Regions from separate parts of the Homo sapiens genome. Here region 2 is linked to region 1. Evidence: promoter capture Hi-C in 16 types of primary human blood cells and fetal thymus (Javierre and others, 2016). All regions are on one chromosome and are shown on one strand. Each heading gives the region's core, a stretch centred on a gene start or on the middle of the fragment in contact. The rest is flanking DNA. Distances are from core to core; before and after follow the strand shown.

Evidence for each region. Contacts are between HindIII fragments. The CHiCAGO score rates a contact against its expected background, and 5 or more counts as called.
Region 2: a contact is called between a fragment that was not itself captured here and the fragment with the promoter of GRM5-AS1 in region 1, in 2 of 17 cell types (erythroblasts and activated CD4 T cells). The highest score is 6.8, in erythroblasts.

Annotation. Positions count from the first base shown.
Region 1 is chr11:88,501,972-88,509,065 of GRCh38, reverse strand. GRM5-AS1 (GRM5 antisense RNA 1) reads right to left here and starts at 4,490. Exons shown (of 6, transcript NR_049724.1): 1 at 127-4,490. GRM5 (glutamate metabotropic receptor 5) reads left to right here. Exons shown (of 10, transcript NM_001143831.3): 10 at 1-4,424. The coding sequence ends at 474. The HindIII fragment of the contact is 8,959 bases long and covers 1-5,643 here.
Region 2 is chr11:87,952,228-87,959,321 of GRCh38, reverse strand. It overlaps a transcript of RAB38 not described here. Among named protein-coding and RNA genes, the nearest start is that of RAB38, 220 kb to the left of the region's middle. The HindIII fragment of the contact is 827 bases long and covers 2,095-2,921 here.

The sequences.
Region 1 (7,094 bases), core at 3,241-5,740:
TCCCTCATGGAGCAGATCAGCAGTGTGGTCACCCGCTTCACGGCCAACATCAGCGAGCTCAACTCCATGATGCTGTCCACCGCGGCCCCCAGCCCCGGCGTCGGCGCCCCGCTCTGCTCGTCCTACCTGATCCCCAAAGAGATCCAGTTGCCCACGACCATGACGACCTTTGCCGAAATCCAGCCTCTGCCGGCCATCGAAGTCACGGGAGGCGCGCAGCCCGCGGCAGGGGCGCAGGCGGCTGGGGACGCGGCCCGGGAGAGCCCCGCGGCCGGTCCCGAGGCTGCGGCCGCCAAGCCAGACCTGGAGGAGCTGGTGGCTCTCACCCCGCCGTCCCCCTTCAGAGACTCGGTGGACTCGGGGAGCACAACCCCCAACTCGCCAGTGTCCGAGTCGGCCCTCTGTATCCCGTCGTCTCCCAAATATGACACTCTTATCATAAGAGATTACACTCAGAGCTCCTCGTCGTTGTGAATGTCCCTGGAAAGCACGCCGGCCTGCGCGTGCGGAGCGGAGCCCCCCGTGTTCACACACACACAATGGCAAGCATAGTCGCCTGGTTACGGCCCAGGGGGAAGATGCCAAGGGCACCCCTTAATGGAAACACGAGATCAGTAGTGCTATCTCATGACAACCGACGAAGAAACCGACGACAAATCTTTTGGCAGATTTTCTTCTAGTGGCCTTAGAAAACATGGGCTTTTAAGAAACACGGCTGATATCTTTGAGGGCTGACAAGGCGTCTCTTCAAACAGTTCCATACCAAGTGCTTTGCTCTAGGGAAGCAGTGCGTGTGAAACAGCGTAACGGAGGGTGAAGAGCATAGTTAATAAGCAACTGTAAAAAGTTTTATTTGTTTACTTTAATTCTTTTCCCAGAAGAGTCTTTGATTCACCAAACATGAATGTACATTTTCTAACAAACTCAAAATCTGGGACCAAAACATCAACTTTTTTCTTTCTTTTTTCTTTCTTTTTGTTTTTTCTTTCCTGTAAAGACCTTGAAAAGCAGTAACTTGGGTCCAGTATTTACGGAGGCGTTGTGAATGTGTCCCATGCATAACACACTACTGGATAGTGAGTGCTGCGCTAATGTACTACGTAGGGCTTCTACCAGAGATTTTCCTCTCCAATTGGGTTGTGAAATACTCTTCCAAAAGCCTGCATCGGGGATTCCACCTACTTATTTCAGATTCACCTCCATTAACCAAGAAAACCAGTGGAAGATTTCTTGACTATTTCACCATGTTGCCAATCAATACTGGAGTAGCAAAAAAAATATTTTCTGGAATACTGTTTTGTAATTCCCTCACTGGGGTGCATTGTAGCTGGAAATTCTCTTTATAAAAATCATTCTTGAGCTCCAGCCTGGCTATCTCTTTCAAGAAACATGGCCACTCTTTAGGAATGCTGTTGCGTTTGCATTGCCAACTAAAATATTAAAATATGCATTGGGGCTTCTTCATTCCTTTATTTTGAGAACCTGATGCACAAAGAGCTCCTTTGTTCTTTTCGAGTCCCACCACTGGAAGAGTGGTCCATAGACCCCATGAAGACATTGTCATGATTTGAGAGACTGTTGTTGAAAGGATTAACACAATCTTAATACACTGAAAATTTTAACTGTGTCAAGTCAGCTTAGTGGAGATTTAGCTATGCCAGTGAGCAGTGATTTTAACTATTCTTGGCTGCTTAAACAGGGCAGCTATGAACTATGACAAATGTAGATTTTTCAAAGCAATACAAAATACTAAAAAAGAGGAACCTTAATGAATATTAACCACACAGTCTTTCTTAGCCATTCCAAAAAGAGGCAAAGCAATTCTTATTTTCTTTTTTAAAATAATGATTAATATGATTTTGTGCACTTCATACTGTCACTTTTTAAAACTACAGAAAAGAGATTTAGAGTATAACAGAAACAAGTGTGCTTTGATAGTCTCAAATAGGTAGAATTCATAGTTCAAGACCTGAATCCACTGTCATCTCTTTCTTCCTCCCATTGCAGCTATCCTCAGGTACCAAATGTTTTGATTTTTAAATAAGGATAGTAATAAATGGAGGAGGTGTCCTATAAATTTAAAGTTCAGTTGACCCAGCCTTATACTTAAGATAGCCTTATGAAAAATATGTGCTGTGAGGCAGAAGTATATTTTGGCAGAGAGAATAATAAATAAAACTTTTTCTTTTAGCTCAATATCCTTACTTTGGTAAGTATTTTTTTTTATTTCACATCTACTTAACAGAAAATAAACTGAGAAATAGAAGTCAGTCCATTGGCATAATTTATCATTCTTCACTTTAAAAAATTCTAATAAATATTCTGCTTGAGTTTTCTTTTCTGCTATTTGTTCTTACTTGCAACTTTAAGTCAAACCTCCCAATACAAAACATTAAAAGCTAACATTAATGTACTAAAGTATTAATTTAAAAGAAATCGAACCTCCCATGCTAGATTTGAAAATAACATCATCACAGCACCCTGATCCCAAATATTACACCGAGGCTTTTAAAATGTAAGTGAAATCTAGCTAAGTTTCATGGTTTCATTAAAAGCAAATGTCTGCCTCTATCTGAAAAACAAATGGAAATCTTTTGAGGTGTTAATACCCTTTGGATCCTCATCAAAAGGATGGCATTCACCTGAGGATTCCTATCTTGACTTCTTAGGTATTAAAAACCTTTCTTGATATGCTCTACATTTTAAAATTTGTTTTATAAAATCCTTATGTTGATTTTCATTTTATTCTCAAGTACAATACGTTTCACTCTAGACCAGTTGAAGAACATGTTTAAACTTTGTTCATGGTCAAATTCATTTTCTATTTTTTTAGTAACATATCTCTTAAAAAGCACACTACCTTATAAAAAACTTCATCAGAAATTAAATTTAATGCAAGTAAATTGCCATCTGATACTTCCACATGCTATCATAATCAACTGTAATAATAAAAATGATTTATCCAATTAGAAAAGGACAAGATATATTTTTCTCTGTATTTCTATAACTTTTGCCACTCCATTGAATACATTGTATGTTGGACATAAGATTATTAGTAATGCATTCTTGAGATCTTTTATTTTGGAATGATGCTAACTCTGTCTCTTTGCCAATTCTAATACCAGGTTCCAAGTAATAACTCTACAGTACAAAGAGAACTGAATATTCATTCTAGGGCTATAGGATATGAACTTCACAATTCATTTGGGTACATTCTCATTGAATTTCCTTCAAAACAATCTGTTCCTGGTGCCCAGTGATAATTCAGTCGGGACCAGCATGACTAAAAGGAAGGGGATATGCTAAGGCTCAGCAAAGTGACCCTAAATGAGAGATATGTCCCAGGATGGAAAGAAGAAGACGTGGTTTAACCAAGTTATACTGACTAATCTAAGCAGTCCACTCATCCTTCCATTTTGGGAAAGGAGTGGGGGCAGCCTAAGAAGAACATATCTGGATTGGGAAGAACCGTCTTTCTGGGCTAGGGATGGGGAACAGAAAGGGAGTATGGAAAGAAAAATTATAAGAGATTTGACTGAAGCAAGGAAAAAAAGCAAATCCCCAAACGTGCTAATCCTTGAAAGTAACTATCTTTCCCAAACTACTGCTGTTACCAGCAAGTGATCAGGAAGACTAGGAGCTATTTCTGACTGTAAATGAATTGTATAATAGCTCTGCTGCAGTTCTGTGACTTCCAAGCCAGGAATTAAATGCTCTTTTTAAGAATAACAAAAAACAAAAGCATTTCCTATGCTAGTCTCCCAGTAAAATGTACATGTTTTGGAGACTTCAAAGGTATTATGTGAGTTCACATTTAGCAACAGCTTATTAATAACCCTCAAGCTGTCAGAATCTCTATAGTTACCATTTACAATTTTATACTGTGAAAAAATACAGATCAGTGAAAGCATAAAGACAAGTCAGAATTCACTTTGAAGAGGGTCTGAGGCCTGGGAGAGTCTCTACTGTCTATTGAAGAATGAGGCATGTATAAAATAGTTGGTTGAATTTCACTGATCTTCCCAATGTGAACAAATATACTATGTATATTGTGTGTATTTCTAGAAATCAATGGCAGCTGCTGATGGTGTTGTAATTAGAAATCTATATAGATTATAGATGTTTTAGAAAGATGGTGCCAATCCTAAAAGATTTGTGTGGGCTAAAAGTGCTTGTACTTACTTTTTTCTGCACTTATAACTGATTTGGTTTTAAAATTGTGTGCGTGTATCTGTTCTTTCTCTGTTGTGGCAGCTTGTACTATTAAAATAATAGAGAATGTTAAATTATTTTGATGTGAACTGCAAATGATTTTTTTTCATAAAGTTTAACATTTTTATCAGCATTGTTTTGCTTTGTACTTGTATAAATATGTTTTATTTTAGCACTTCAAAATATACTTGCCTGTTTCTCAGTTGTCTAAATCATGTTGTACTTGGTGTTTGTGAAGCCAGTTACTTTTCAAAAAAATTAAAAAACCTATAATATGATTTTAAGATTATTCCCCTCAAATGTTTAGAATGTTGTCTTAATAGTGTTTTCTGAGATGAAAAGAGCCATGATACTAATTAATCTTGAATACTGGATGATCTATACATTTGAATTATGGGGTTTACAAAGTAAGCAGTGGACTGTATAGATTTAAATGAAAATATAAACCAACCACAAACCAACCAGAGATGTTGTCCCCAAACACATCTACAAACAACTGTTACATAAAGAAGTACTTAAAAAAATATATAGGAAATATGCATTGTTTATGCATCTAGACATACAAATTATAGAAATAGTTTCATAATTATATGTGTTGATAGAGGTAACATCACACAGATAAAATAGATTATTTGTGTGTGTATAGATGTGTGTTTACAAACATACATATTTATATAGACATTTGACTTTTGAGTCCATCTGCATGTGTCTCTGTGTATATGTGTGTTTGTGTGTAGATGTATGTGCATATTACATAATTTTTCCAGAAAAAAAAAAAGTTTTACTTTGACTGATTCTTGAGCAAATATACATTCCCTGGACACAAATTAGTGAAAAACTAACAGCAGAATATAAGGTAGATGCTTGATGTATGGAAGAGAAAAACAAGGTATATTTAAAAATATATTTGATTTATGCTTCTGACATTGTATTAAATGCATAATGATATATATACATATGTAGATACATATATTATACAGAATGTGTTTGATCTTAACAAAGAAAGCCATTTTATCTGTTTTGTCAGACTCTTCCCTTCAGTATCTTTTATTCTAACGTGATATGAATGGTAATATGTTCACATAAAATTGAGGATGAAGTGACATATACAAACCAGGTACAGGAAATTACCTTCTAAAAATCCAAAGAGCCTTATCAGACTCCATCAAATTATGGAAGGCCATTTAAAACCAGCGGATGCAATAGAAATAGCATTGAATTAAAAGCCAGGATCTCTTACCTGTCACCAACTGACTTTGGATAAATCACTCTGATTTCTCTACAACTTGTTCCTCTTGCTTTAAATGCAGAAGTGAGTTACAATAATCTGTGAAGTTTCTATCATTTCAACATTCCTGATAAATGCTCAATAGTAGCTATTATTAGTGTCAATGTAGTATTTAGTATACAGTTAATATTCAGCAGGAAGCTTAAATTTGTTATATCAATGTTATTTGTGGAGCTTAACAAGTTCCTGTCCAACTTAAAGCATATATCCTGGAGGAAACCTATTGAGGTTTGAACTCATATGCAACCTTGGAACTGTCTATCAAGGACAACTTAGTAAATTGATATTGAACACCACAGAGAGAATGCTTTTCCTCTGTTATAATTGCTGCTGAATGCTGGCCAAGTTTTTGGTTATGCTGTACATGAATGATCAGTTTTAGAACATAAACAATTTGCAAATATTTACTTTGTATGATAGCTAGGCAGAAAGGTAGGTAAGCACATAGATAGGCAGAATTATATTAATGAAGTTATCTCCTTAAGCAAAAGCTTGGTATTTACATTTTCTCTCACAGTATTTTAAAACTCAGAATCAGTTATTACATCTCACTCTGTTTATTACTTTTAGGTTATTATGTTAGTAAATAAGTTCTATGAAGAGAATGTTTAAACTCATCTTCTCCAGCCACTCTTAGAATCCTGAACCAAAAGTTTCCAGGAACACTTAACCTCCACTAGAATAAATGTTTTAAATTACTGTTACACCAGGACAAAGACATTTATTTTTGCCAGGACATAAGTCTCTTTGAGGTATGATCTATATACAGGATACCTATGTGATATACATATCAGACACTTTGGCTTATTTATGTATAGCTTGTATTTTTATTCATTGACATTAAAAATAAAAATTTTCATACTATCAGATTTCTATGATGAGATAGATGTTATATTTTAAATTATACAAATTCTATGTCCGTGAAAACCACATAATAAATTGTGGCTTTTCTGAACTGCTGAATAGTAATAGGTGATTCATAAAAGTTCTTAGAGTCTTAAAAGTTTGAAAAATGTAGTAATTCCAAATTAAATGGCTATCTTCACTTCGGAAGTTACCAATTTATAGTATTCTTTTTTTTTTTTTTTGAGACGGAGTCTCGCTTTGTAGCCCAGGCTGGAGTGCAGTGGCGTGCAGTGGCGCGATCTCGGCTCACTGCAAGCTCCGCCTCCCGGGTTCACACCATTCTCCCTCCTCAGCCTCCCAAGAAGCTGGGACTATAGGCGCCCACCACATCGCCGGCTAATTTTTTGTATTTTTAGTAGAGACGGGGTTTCACCATTCGCAGGATGGTCTCGATCTACTGACCTTGTGATCCGCCCGCCTCGGCCTCCCAAAGTGCTGGGATTACAGGCGTGAGCCACCGTGCCCGGCCCAATTTATAGTATTCTAATATCCATTAACTTTGCTAATGAAGCTGTCTCCTCAGAGTAGAGTTTCATGAAAAGAATTTTGGAAATGCTATGATATAAAAGTTATAATTTATACACACTTTTTCTTTTAGTTTTCAAAATTCATTGCCATTTCCATGATGATCTCCTTAGGCCTTTAGAGAAGTAAACACAGATTGATAGAGTTATAACATTGTCTTCAG
Region 2 (7,094 bases), core at 1,259-3,758, 550 kb after region 1:
GTCTTAGCTTACTGTGTAGGTTTTAGAATGATGGAGGGTTTAGGCTACCTCCAATTCTAGATCAGAATGCATTTTGATTCCCTTAATCACAATGAGGCAGGAGATATCCTAAATGCGTCGGAATGTTTCACATGTCATTAATTCCTTATCAAACACAACTGCAAGCAACACTGCAATTACTGTGCAGCTATGGGCCCATAGCCTGAAGGTAGGGATCTTAATCCTAGGGCCCATTTGATGATTGGTGGGGTGTACATGGCAGAAATTGTGCCAACAGCCTAAAGCACAGCTTTCAGTTCCGCAGAAGGAGGAGGTGTTTCCATCATTTCATTATATTCTCTAGGGCAGAAATTGGAGGCCTGTGGTGAAATATGATTACAATTCTCTATTGTCTTATTTGGGGTATAAACAAATTCCTCTCTAATCAATTTACAGAAACAAACATAAAAAGCAAATAAGCAGCCTTCTTAGAAAGGGATTATTATACAGGATTTGCATATGTCACTTACTCTGGTGGAGCAGAAATGCAGCCATGTATTTACAAACAAGGCAAACGTATGCCCTGTTCAAGAATAGTGCTTATTATTGGAGCTAGTCCTATTTGTCTTGACATCAAAAATTCCTTTTGATACTTTTCAGTTTTCTCTTTTAGAAAAAGACAATGATTCCTGAAATCTCCAAATTAATAAAGTCAAGGACATCTTTAGGTTTCTTGCTGTCTACTTCCTTCCCTCACAAAAGACACTAGAAGCTGGAAATGGAGACCAGAGTGTTCTAGGTGTATCATAACATTGCTAAGAGCCTCGCTTCCTGGGGTTCATTTTCTCTAATTACTAAGAACAACACTAGCAGTGGAAAGAATAAGATAGGTATGAAGAAAGGAGGTTGGAGACTTTCTTAGCTTGGATCTCCTTAAGAGCAGAGCCCAAGACAGAGGCTTGCATGCAGGGGTAGATGCTTCTTAACTTGGGTTACCTCTAGATAAACCCATCATATGTTGAAAATATGTAGCTAAGAAATGCATCTTATACACCTAACCTACAGAACATTGTAGCTTAGCCGAGCCTACTTATATGTGCTCACAGCATTTACATTGGCCTACAGCCGGGCAAAATCATCTAACAACATAGAACCCCATAGAGTGCTGGTTGTTTGCCCTTGTAATTGCTTGGCTGACTGGGGGCAGTGGCTGCCAGTGACAAAGAGTAGAGTACAGTATATTGCTAGCCTGGGAAGAGATCAAAATTCAAAATTTGAAGTACAGTTTTTACAGAATGCATATGGCTTTCAAACCATCATAAAGTCAAAAATCGTAAGTCGAATCATTGTAAGTCTGGGACCAGCTGTGCTTTATTTGGAAAGTGATATTTGGAAAGTGATTCTAGGGAAGAGAAATGAGCATATCAGGGATCAGAACACGATATCCCAAAATATGGTGTCATGGCATGCTGAGTATTTCGTTAGGAAGGAGATTGGTAGGCCTTAGAAGAAAGGTCACTCTGACCTTCTCATGCTCTCCCTTCTTCCTTTCCCCACGCTCCCCCAAGATGTGTCAAGAATTTTTCTCCCCACCTCAGATTATAGAAGTTAGAACTCCTCTCCCTCAAAGTGAACCATAAAACCTAGAAACGTCACTCTCTGGCCTACCTTCCCTGAAAGCAGGTCATGAGGGTCTTGTTCTAGAGTTCCTGCCCCATATGCTGAGAGAGGAATGCCACATAGAGAGCCCAAGAATAATCTGAACAAGTAGGCCTTGCTTGGTCTCCTCGCAGTTGATTACTATTAGATTCTACTTTCTTTGTCCAATCATGCTTCTTCACAACTTTTCACTTTTTTCATCAGACTTAGAATAAAAGCACACAGTTTTCCCTGGGTATGGGGGTCACATAAAACCCTGGTTAAATAAACTTATGGGTTTTTTTTTCTGTTAATCTGTCTTTTGTTACAGGACTGTCATCCGTGACCCTTATGACGGATGAGAAAAAGTTATTACCTTATTGCCCCTATGGGGGGTGAGGGGAGAGAAGCAGGAAGTAGAGAAAGGCAATCCAAATATGTATGATCCCATTGTCTACTGTGACAGGCAAAGAAGCTTGATTCAGAGAGAACTTTTAAGGAAACTTGTGACATGAATCTTGGAACTGACCACCTAAGGGACAAAGGGGGAATCAATTTGTGGGAGTGAAAAAGTAAATATTTTTCCTCACCCACTGTAAGTTATTACTTACAGTGCTATAACAATAGACAGATTCATAAGAGAAAAGCACAGCCAATTGATTTAACAATGTTTTATGTGACATGAGAGCGTTCGGAAATGAGGACTCAAGGACCCCCCCCCAAAAAACTGCATTTTTATACTTAGGTTCAATGAGGAATGGACAGTCCTGTAGAAATGTCAGTGTACAAAAAACAGGGTGAAACTTCATGATAATAAACTGAAGGTGGGGGGAGGGAACCCAGAAAGGCCCTGAAAGGTTCAAATTCTTCTTGGCTTCTCTGTGTATCATTCCTTCTCTCCAGGTTTGGTGCAGTACTCCTCTGGAATGCGGGTCTTATGACTTACTTTCAGTTAAGGTAGATTAAAAAAAATGTTTTATAACTATGCTTTATACAGAAAAGTGGGGGTGGTCAGAGTGACCTTCTAGCTCCTGTAGCTTTTTCAATTGCTGAGTGCCATGTTTTCACATATCATGTTCTGAGCTCCCACAAATTATTAATTAGTTCCCAGACCCCAGTGGACAAGGTTGGACACGTAGGGGTTAATTATCCTGCCGTTTGGTTTCTACAGACATCTCCTACTATGGCATCTGAGAGACCATGGGGCAGGAGTGGGAGGCCATGGTGCAGGTGATAGAAGCCTGTGCTAAGCAAATCTCTGCAGCAGAGAATAGTGAAGAGGCGAGGACCCAAGAATTTAAGCTTGCATGTGAGTGGTCTCCAATGCAGATGACTAAAGGATATTTTTGTTCTTCTCACAACTTTTTGATTCTAGTGTTATGCTCTGTGTAATTTTATAATAAGAACAATAGCTACAATTTATTTGCTATTTGCTGGATGTAGTTTGAGGGACTTGTGCAACATGTTCTCATTTTATTCTTCATAATAGTCCTTTATCATGACTTTGTATCGTTGATATTTACTTACAAGTAAATATTTTCAGATAAGTTAAATAATTTACTTACTTACAGTTACAAGGTATATGCATGTATGTATGTATGTTTGTTTTTAAAAATTATTTTATTAGCTCAGAAAATATATGAACCATACTGTAGAACGGAGACTTTTAAACATTTTTGGTTTAGCACTTAGTTTTTTATGTCTGCTAATGTACTGAAGCAAGAGTTTTATAAAATTGCATTTTCTCTTTTGACATGTCTTGTTAAGAGAAAATACAATATTTTCTATTCTGTCCTACTTGTGTGTGTGTGTGTGTGTGTGTGTGTGTGTGCATACTGTTTGCTACCCATTATATTGATTTTATCACTCACTAATGAGTTATGAGGCATGACCCCACAGTGTGAAAACGGTGACCTAGAAAACCAATATTTTATAGAAAATATTCACTTTCGGATGACAGGGGTCATCTGAAGCCTCATGAATGCCTAGCTCAATGGATGATTGACAGATGATAGAAAGATTGATTGATAGATAGATGATTGATAGATATAAGAGCTAAATGTTGTGCTTATTTTATTCATTTAAGTTTGGCTTATAGTTAGCTACGGGCTTTATACAATAGCTTTAGGCTTCGTTAAACAAAAGAGTCTATAGGATAAGTCATATTGTCTACTGATACTTTAAATAATTTTAACTTTTATTTTAGATTCAGGAAGTACATGTGCAGGTTCGTTATGTGGGTATATTACACGATACTAGGTTTGGAATACGGATGATCATGTCACCCTAGTAGTGAGCATGGTACCTAACAGTTTTTCAATGCTTACCCCTCCCGCTTCCAGCAGCCTCCAGTGTCCATTGTTGACTTATTTTATTTTGTAATGGGAACTGAAATTTTGATAAATATTCTCACTTGAGACTAGAGAGGAAATATATTTCCTTTATAATTTGGATTTGCTGGATTAAAGAATAAGAGAAGAGCAAGAAGAGGAAAAAATAAATGAAAGCATGTGGAAGAGTGCACCAATGTGGAAGAGTGTGTGCCAATGTGGCTTTCATGGACTTCTTGTGGGAGTCAGATGGGGCACCCATGGGCCAGTGAACACTACTGCATGCACAGCTGCTTTGCAGCTCCCACTATGCTCCTGCTCTTTTCTTCTGCTGTGCTCCTTTTGCAGTCTGTTCAACAACAATCTTTTCACCAAATTTACTCCAACCCGCTACTTAGTATATATGATGCAATATTACTAATTATCAGAAATTCTTTCCTCTGCTTATTTTGAATATTGCCTTTACAGGTTCTGGAGGTGGAGCTGACACTTGTTTCTTCTTTCATAAACACGGGATAATGCTTTTCATCCCAGATGAAAGGGTGAGTCTTTAATGAGATAATGTGTATAGCACAGTAGGTGCCCATCACATTTTAGCTAAAAGTGTCCTTGCTTTCTGCAGTGCACCAAATCCACTTCCTCCTGCCACTGTGGTTGAAGCCTGCTCCCGGGCTCGCCTATACCTTATCTGGTCCTGCCTTCCTGAGCAGCTGATCCTCTTGATGGTGTGTGGTCACTTCCTGAAAGCTAGTGGTGGCTTTGTGAGTGCTCACAGAAAACTGAGGAAAAATTGTTCAGATAAGGCACAGAAATTTCTCAACAAGGCTGTTCCTTCTCTAGCGTGCATTTATGCAGGTCTTTCAGTAGGTATTGAGACTTGAATATGTAGAAAATCTTTCTTTTTCTATCTTTCTGTGACAACACAGCACACAAATTCCCTGAAGACCAATTAGTCACCTTTATTCAGAAATTTAGGCTGAAAAAGTAGTCTTTATCTGGAACATTTCCAAACTCAAGGGAGAGACAGAGAGGAGATGGGGAATTATGTGATGAGTCTCAAAGTTCTGGCTGTTGTTCCCACCATGATGCCATTGGTAGGAGTTCACATGCTCACCCCTGAGTTCAGCAGGGTGGATGCATCGTCCTCTCACAAGAAGGACAATCAAAGGAAGGGGATCCAGAATATTTAGCAATCATCAATGCTACTGATCAACCACCAGACACAAGACTACATTTTAACTCAAAATCATTGGATGTTCTTATGTATCTCAGCTTGTGTGCACATTTACATGAACATGGCCACCCTCATCTAGGATCAACAGCATTCCACAGCACACTTTAGGGGGTCCCACCTCTGTGTCTTTGCTCATATCATTTCCTCCTGCTGGAATGTCTTTCCTCCATGTTCAAATTTTGTAGATTTACATCAAAACAGGAATAGGAAATTCAAAAATAAATAAATACAAATAGCTAACGAAATTGTTCAACCTGACAAATAGTAAATGGAAAAAAAAAAAAACACTAAAACACAGATTCCATCTTGGGCCTAAAAAAGGCAAGCATTTAAAGAGAAACATACAGTATTGTTCAGGGGGAAGCAATACAGATATTTTCATTTACAGTAGTTTCCCCTTATCTTCAGGTAATATGTTGCAAGACTCTCACTGGATGCCTGAAACCGCAGATAGTACTGAACCCTATGTAGACCATGATAGTATGTTTTTTCCTATGCATACATACCTTTGATAAAATTCAATTTATAAATTAGACACAATAACAGATTAACAATAAATAATAATAATGTAAACAATTATATTTTAAAGGACAGACAAAGAGAGCCCACATTCACATAAATTTTATTATAGCACAGTTATATTTTTGTGGTGTACTCACCTATTTTCAGACCACAGTTAAATATAAGTAGCTAAAACCTTAGAAAGTGAAACTGCCAGTAAGGGGGGACTACTGTACTATTGCTAAGAGTTGCTATCCAGGCACTTGTTTTATGACTAAAAAGCTGGAAAGAATTGAAGTATCTCCCATCACTCTCTAGCACCTATTCCTTATACATTCATCACTACTTGATATACATGTGTGCATGCCTACAACCCCCTTTACACACACACGAACTCTTTCTTTGCTTGTTATTGTTCTTCCCAGAGAATGTAAGCTCCACAAGGACAATGACTTTATCTAGCTTGTATATTATTATACCTCCAGTCCTAGAATGTCTAACACATAGGTGGTCACATAGTAAATATTTATTAGATGAATATATGAAATGATCATCAGGAGTCTGTGTAAATAAATAATGACATATTTACATAATGATCAACTTTATAGAATTTTTAAAAAGTTATTAAAATTTTAATTTTAATGTTTTAAATGTTTTATGTTTAAATGTTTTAAAATTAAAAACATTTAAAACATGAAAAATACTTATTGTCTATAATAAAGACACAAACACAGTGGTTATCTCAGACTGATGAGCTTATGATTGATTGATAGTTTTCCTTTTTATATACATCTGCATTTTCTAAATACTTATCAATAAGCATGTGCTATTGTTATAATCAGACAAACATGTAAAAGACAAAAAGTCCTGGAAGTCCAGCTCAAATGCAACCTCTTCTATTAAATATTTCCTGAACTCTCCAATCCCTGGTGATCTTGGCCTCTACAATCCTCAGGACATAGTGACCATGTCCGAAACCATGCATAGTACTGAACCCTATACTGATTACAATACTGTGATGTTGGATTTGTGGGTATAACCCATTTGTGTCATTTAGCTGTGTTCCTCTTGGACCAACAGCTTTAGCTCCCATTGCCCTGCCCAATGCAGGGTGAAGGAATATGGTATTCTGAAAAAGGTGGAGCAATAGGAAGTTAAACAGGGAGGAAGTTAAGAGGAGAATGTGGATATACCAATACATCAACAGAAAATAAGAAACAAGATCCTGTTCAGTTCCTAAAAATGACTCCAAAAAGGTATTTTTCACTTGAAAACAGTGTAACCTTTAGCTTCGAGAGAATGTCCTAAAATTTACTGCTGGCTGCATTTGAGGTCATTGAGGCCCACCTTTAAATGAGTTCCATAAATTCCCAGGATGAAGCTCAAGACTTTGAGAGATACAAAAGAGGCCT